Linked DNA regions of Homo sapiens: region 1 is linked to region 2. The links are contacts of gene promoters, found by promoter capture Hi-C in human tissues and cell types (Jung and others, 2019). All regions are on one chromosome and are shown on one strand. Each heading gives the region's core, a stretch centred on a gene start or on the middle of the fragment in contact. The rest is flanking DNA. Distances are from core to core; before and after follow the strand shown.

Evidence for each region. The method cuts DNA at HindIII sites, captures the fragments that hold promoters and counts their contacts. A contact is called where the count stands out against the background at its distance.
Region 1: a fragment that was not itself captured here is called in contact with the fragment with the promoter of PSMB10 in region 2 in 1 of the 25 tissues and cell types used here (ovary).

Annotation. Positions count from the first base shown.
Region 1 is chr16:67,900,075-67,903,361 of GRCh38, forward strand. The region is part of intron 1 of PSKH1 (protein serine kinase H1); the gene reads left to right. Among named protein-coding and RNA genes, the nearest start is that of PSKH1, 8.5 kb to the left of the region's middle. The HindIII fragment of the contact is 3,472 bases long and covers 1-3,123 here.
Region 2 is chr16:67,935,443-67,938,903 of GRCh38, forward strand. It overlaps PSMB10 (proteasome 20S subunit beta 10), which reads right to left and starts at 1,408. Exons shown (of 8, transcript NM_002801.4): 1 at 1,252-1,408; 2 at 956-1,043; 3 at 773-870; 4 at 521-661; 5 at 140-255; 6 at 1-36. The coding sequence starts at 1,307. RefSeq lists enhancers at 1-177, 328-517, 808-1,087, 1,338-1,587. The HindIII fragment of the contact is 5,569 bases long and covers 437-3,461 here.

The sequences.
Region 1 (3,287 bases), core at 138-2,637, 35 kb before region 2:
CCTCAGCTTCTGAGTAGCTGGGATTACAGGTGCCCACTACCATGCCCAGGAAATTTTTTTGTATTTTTAGTAGAGATGGGTTTCACCATGTTGGCCAGGCTGATCTTGTACTCCTTACCTCAGGTGATCCACCTGCCTTGGCCTCCCAAAATGCTGTGATTATAGGCGTGAGCCACTGCGCCCGGCCAGACCACATTTCATTTGCTCTGAGTTCAGCAATTTGATAAGTACCAAGGGAGTTCTGGAAACCTGAGAATGGCCCCTTCCCTCAAGGGTCTGACAGCTGTAGTGATCAAAGGCAGTCTGGAGTAGAGCAGTGAGCAGTGTGACTCAGATTATAGTTGGAATGGAGGTTTCTAAAGCAGACCCTTCAGGAAAGATCCTCAGGAAAGCTTTGTGGGTTCACCAACTCAGTGGCATGGGGAAGGATCAAGGCCTTGACTGGATGAGGCCCAGCACTGCTGGAGTCTTTCCGGAGTGATAGAAGGAGCCCCAGATGGGGAACTAGGATATTTGGGTCCAGGATATTTGGTCACCACCGTCTGAGTGGCTTTGGACGAGTCTCTTTACCTCTCCTGGACTGTCATTTCTGTAGATTGTCAGTGAGGACGATAATGCTGAATGCTCATACCCATTGCCACACTCTGTCCAATGTGCGTGCCTTCTTTGAAGAGTGCTTTGGACCAGGCTGGGAGTTTAAGTTTTGGAGGCAGACTCTAGAGAGTTGGGTACTTTCTGCAAGATGACATACTGTGACACTCCTGGGAAGTCTCTTCCTGAAGCTTCCTTACTCATCCTTGCCCATCCCTACACCTACCGTGATCTCTGGGCTAGGGGCACACACAAGAGATGCTGGGAACAGGAAAAGGCTCTGCTCTTCTTCCTAGGAGCTTTACCAGCCACCTCCCGTGTTATAGAGTCTGCATTTTCACCTGACCACAGTGTGGAGAGGGAGTTTAACAGATGTGATGGGACTGTGGAGCAGCTGTGATCACCTGGGGGCTGTTGCCCATTGTCCCCACCTCTCAGCCAGCACCCTCTCTTCTCTACTTTCTTTTTTTTTTCCCCTCTCTTGGCCAATTTGGTCTAATATCCTCCAGTTTCAATCTGTAGTTGGGATGGTGGAGTACCCGCATCAGCCTATCTTTACAGAGTTTCTGATTGGAATCAATGTGAGAGAAACTATGTCTCAGGAAGACAGAAGGAAGATCAGAGGGAAAATCATTGACTCTCTTATTGCCGACTGACTTTATTTTGTTTTCTTTCTTTCTTTAAGAGACGGAGTTTCGCTCTATCGCCCAGGCTGGAGTGCAGTGGCGCGATCTCAGCTCACTGCAACCTCCGCCTCCTGGGTTCAAGCAATTCTCCTGCCTCAGCCTCCTGAGTAGCTGCGACTGCAGGCTCATGCCACCACGCCTGGCTAATTTTTTTTGTATTTTAGTAGAGACGGGGTTTCACCGTGTTGCCCAGGCTGGCTCAAACTCCTGAGCTCAGGCAATCCACCTGCCTTGGCCTCCCAAAGTGCTAGGATTACAGGCGTGAGCCACCATGCCCAGCCTATTTTTTTTTTTTTTTTTGGAGACATGGTCTTGCTCTGTTGCCCAGGCTGGAGTGCCATAGCACAAACACAGCACACTGCAGCCTCGACTTCCCTGGCTCAAGCTATCCTCCACCTCAGCTTCCTGAGTATCTGGGACTACAGGTGCATGCCACCACGCCTGACTAATTTTTTGTAGAGATGGAGGTCTCACTACATTGCCCTGGCTGGTCTCAGACTCCAGGGCTCAAGTAATCCTCCCACCTTGGCCTCCCAGAGTGCTAGGATCACAGTGTAAACCACTGCGCCCTGATGCTGACTTACCTTTGATCCCTGTAGGTTTTATTTGTTTAAAGTGAAAAGTGAGGCCGGGTGCAGTGGCTCACACCTGTAATTCCAACACTTTAGGAGGCGGAGGTGGGCGGATCACTTGAGGCCAGGAGTTTAAGACCAGTCTGGCCAATGTGTTGTAACCCTGTCTCTACTAAAAATACAAAAATTAACCAAGCATGGTGGCACATGCCTGTAGTCCCAGCTACTTGGGAGGCTGAGGCACGAGAATTGTTTGAACCTGGGAAGTGGAGGTTGCAGTGAGCTGAGATCGTGCCACTGCACGCCAACTTAGGTGATAAAGCGAGACTCCATCTCAAAAAAAAAAAAAGAAATAAAAATGAATCGAAAAGTTAGACCTTTTGTTTTTTGTTTTTTTGAGACAGTCTCGATCTCTCACCCAGGCTGGAGTACAGTGGTGCGATCTCGGCTCACTGCAGCCTCCCTGGTTCAAGCGATTCTCCTACCTCAGCCTCCTGAGCAGCTGGGATTACAGGCGCGTGCCATCACGTCCGGGGCTAATTTTTGTATTTTTAGTAGAGACGGGGTTTCACCCATGTTGGTCAGGCTGGTCTCAAACTCTTGACCTTGTGATCCGCCCACCTCAGCCTCCCAAAGTGCTGGGATTACAGGCCTGAGCCACTGCGCCCAGCCAGGCCTTTTCTTTTATAAACCTTAGGTTTTTCCCTGAGGACCAGACTAGGTCCTCATTTAAACAAAAATTTAAACAAAAATACCCAGTACATGTGCCTGTAGATGACTGTTTATTTTGTGAATCTAGGGTTCTGCTTCTTCACCAGGAAGAAGTGACATCTGAGTGGCTGTGCTGGGTTACTCATGCAGTTTGTCTTGCCTCCGAATGGTGGTAGATGTTGTTACTGAGTGGTCGTGGGCATCGGGGTGAGGGACCTGTGTTCTGCCTCAGGAATACCAGCCCAAGAGGAGCTTCAGTCCTTCACTGCATGAGGTGTTGTGTTTTCCCTGAAAGAAGAAATAAGTCTGCAAAATTCCACAGTCCGTAGTTCTATCCTGTGGCCTCTGCGAAAAGGAACCTTGGTTCTAAATGCCTTTGTTTAACATTATTTCCTAGTTGCCATGTGGAACTTCCTGTGCATTTGGGTGAGAACAGCTGCAAATCCTGAAGAGCCTTGTGGAGGAATCTTTTCCTCTTATGTGAAGAAAAATAAACAATATTTTTTTTTGGTTTGGTTTGGTTTTGCTTTGTTTTTCAGACAGGATTTCTGTCTCCCAGGCTGGAATATAGTGGTACCATCACCGCTCACTGCAACCTCAACCTCTTGGACTGAAGCAGATCCTCCCACCCTAGCCTCCTAAGTAGCTGGGATCACAGGCACATGCCACCATGTCTGACTCAATTTAAAAAATGTTTGGCAGAGATAGGGTCTTTCTGTGTTGCCCA
Region 2 (3,461 bases), core at 158-2,657:
CTTCTAGCACCGCCAGGGCCGCGTCCTGACCAGAGCCTGAAGGCAGGAGAAGCATCTGAAGTCAACCGCTGCGACGCCGTTTGGAGTGAGGCCAAGGTCACAGGGGCAGAGTTCGAGGAGAAGGGACAGAAGCGCTCACCCAGGGCTGTGAAGGGCAGACGGCTGTAGGAGCCATGGGGATGCACACCGTAGAGCTGCGGTCCAGTCAGGTCTACGCCGCCCACGATCAGCGATGCACCCACGTGGCCCTGGTACCTGCTCGAGGATGGGCGGGGTCGGCCACAAGCTGGGGCCTAGGCCCCACCTCTCTATGCCCAGCTCCTAGGTGCTATCCCCGCCCCTTCCTGTGGGCTGGCGCCCGATGACTGACATCGCCTTTTCCTGTAGCCCAGGTTCTCTTGGGCCGGCCTCTTCCGGTCACCTGGCCCGTCGCGGTCCCGCCCTTCTTTCTGTCCCGCCTTCCAATGGCCCCAACCCCGTAACTACCCCTGCCGGGGTCCTGTTAGCCCTGCCCCCGCACCTGAAGAGCGTCTGGCGCAGGATGCGAGTGACCGTGGCCACGCGGGGCTCGCGGCCCGTAGATAACGCGTGTAGCTCCATCTTGGACGCCACCATCCGTGTGGTCATCTCGGCGTCCGCGGCTACTCCAGCCCCACAGCAGCTGAGGCAAAAGGGAGGATCGGTGTGGGCAGGGCTGGGACGTGCGGGGACCGGAGTGGGAACGAGGGGGCCGTTCTTTTTTGCGTACGGGAACTGGGCTCGGGAGTCTCACTAGATTTTGGGGGCGATGAAGTGGATCTTCTCGCAGCTCTTGTCCGCCACGACCGAATCGTTAGTGGCTCGCGTATCGGCGCCCAGAATGACCCCGTCCTGAGGAGAGGGAGGGACCGCAGCTTCAGTGCCTGCTCGATACTCTCGGCTCCCCTCCAGCTCCCCGTCCCTCCCCGCTGCTCACTTGGAACACCAGGCCCGCGATGGTGGTCCCGGTCTTGCGTGCGTGAGGGACCTTGAGCCCCGGGAGGACGCGTTCCAATGATGCATTTCTGGAAACGGAGGAGGGCGCCCATGTTTCGGCTCTGCTTTCAAGACCCCTGTTGCTTCCCCTAACCTGGTCCCCGTCTCCCTCATCTTCCGGGGTAAGCCTGGAACCCAAGTCGACCAACACACCCTCCCCCACCCCCAGCCAGGAAAAAAGGCCACGAGCAAGCAGAGGCGGCTCAGGAGTGACCGCCCCCCGCGCCCCCGCTTCACCTTTGGCAGTTCTCGAAGGAGAAGCCCCCTCGGGGCTCCAGGGCTGGCTTCAGCATCTTGGGGCAGGCAGAGGGGATTAGGGGTCGCGGGCGGATGAGTCGGCCAGACAAGCGGGGCCAGTGAGCAGCTAAAAAGTCCTCTGCTAGGCTTCACGTCTGTACTTCCTGCTTTCGCTTTCGCCTTTACCCTTCCTCAAAGGCCCGTGGCGGTTTTCTGCATCTTGTCTTTCACTTTTGGCTTCACTTGTGGCTCTGAGCATTTGGGGAACCGGGTGATGTCCCTTGCTGTGCCCTCTGTGCTGCTCACTGGGTACTCTGTTGGATAGAGGGACAAATCTCTTCCCTTCTGGACTTGTTCAGGTCCTCCTCCCCCTCCATCTGAGCCCCTTGCTCTTACCCTAGCCTCAACTCTGACCTCCAGTCCCAGCATAGTAAAGCTCTCAGAGCCTTGGCCAAGTCAGCATTGTTGCTGGCCACCCAGTAGCATCAGGCATAGCTGACTTTTGTTCCTTGTCACCTTTCTTCCAACTCTTGCCTCTTTTGTTGCCTTTACTCCTCTGCAAAAACCTCAAACAGAGGCTCAGTCCTCAGTCACAGGGACCCTGGTCTTTCCATCTTCCATCTCAGGTGCCATCTTCCCTCTCTCAAGAGGGCACCATGGGTGTTGGGTTCCACTCATGGCCAAGCCTTGTTATTTCACCTCCCCAGTGACCTCTTGTCTGCACACATCCTTTTCCTAGCACTTCTAGTCTCAGCTAGCATCCTCTCCCACCTGGACATTGCACTGGCCTCCCTGGTTACCTTGCAATTCTTGCCCCCCGCCCCCCGACCCCCAGGCTACTCCTTACCCTGCAGAGAGCGGGTCTTTCTAAATTGGAAATCTGGTCACATTCTTTCTCTGGTTTAAACCCTTCAGCAGTCTGGGCCTGGTGGCTCACACCTGTAATCCCAGCACTTTGGAAGCCCAGGAGTTCGGGGCTGCAGTGAGTATGGATCATACCATTGCACTCCAGCCTGGGCAATAGACCCCGTCTCAAAGGGGGAAAAAAAAGACTTGGGTTTGAGGCTAAGAGCAGCACGCAGCTGCCAAAGGGTTTATCTTAATTTTTTTTTTTTTTTTTTGAGATGGGGTCTTACTCTGTTGCCCAGGCTGGAGTACAATGGTGTGATCTCGGTTCACTGGAACCTCTGCCTCCCAGGCACAAGCACTCTTCCACCTCAGCCTCCTGAGTAGCTGGGACCACAGGCACACACCACCATGCCTGGCTAATTTTTTTTTTTTTTTTTTTTTTTGGTAGAGATGGGGTTTCACCGTGTTGCCCAGGCTGGTCTTGAACTCCTGAGCTCAGGCGATCCACCCTCCTCAGCCTTCCAAAGTGCTAGGCTTATAACCATGAACCACTGTGCCTGGCCTATTTTACGGTTTTTTTTTTTTTTTTTTTTGGACACAGGGTCTTGCTGTTGCTCAGGCTGGAATGCCGTGGCACCATCTTGGCTCACTGCAACCTCTGCCTCCCAGGTTCAAGCAATCCTCCCACCTCAGCCTGCCTAGTAGATTTGACTACAGCTGTGGCTACACCTGGCTAATTTAAAAATAAATTTTTTTTTTTGAGACGGAGTTTTGCTCTTGTTGCCCAGGCTGGAGTGCAATAGTGTGATCTTGGCTCACCGCAACGTCCACCTCCCAGGTTCAAACAATTCTCCTGCCTCAGCCTCCCGAGTAGCTGGGATTACAGGCATGCGCCACCATGCCCGGCTAATTTTGTATTTTTAGTAGAGACGGGGTTTCTCCATGTTGGTCAGGGTGGTCTCAAACTTCTGACCTCAAGTGATCCGCCCACCTCGGCCTCCCAGAGTGCTGGGATTACAGGCATGAGCCACCGCACCAGGCTAATTTTTAAAATTTTTGTAGAGATGAGGTCTCACTATATTGCCCAGGCTTGTCTCGAACTCCTGGGCTCAATCAAGTCAAACCCAAGTCTTTTTTTTTTTTTGAGACGGAGTCTCGCTCTGTCGCCCAGGCCGGACTGCGGACTGCAGTGGCGCAATCTCGGCTCACTGCAAGCTCCGCTTCCCGGGTTCACGCCATTCTCCTGCCTCAGCCTCCCGAGTAGCTGGGACCACAGGCGCCCGCCACCGCGCCCGGCTAATTTTCTGTATTTTTAGTAGAGACGGGGTTTCACCTTGTTAGCCAGGATGGTCTCGATCTCC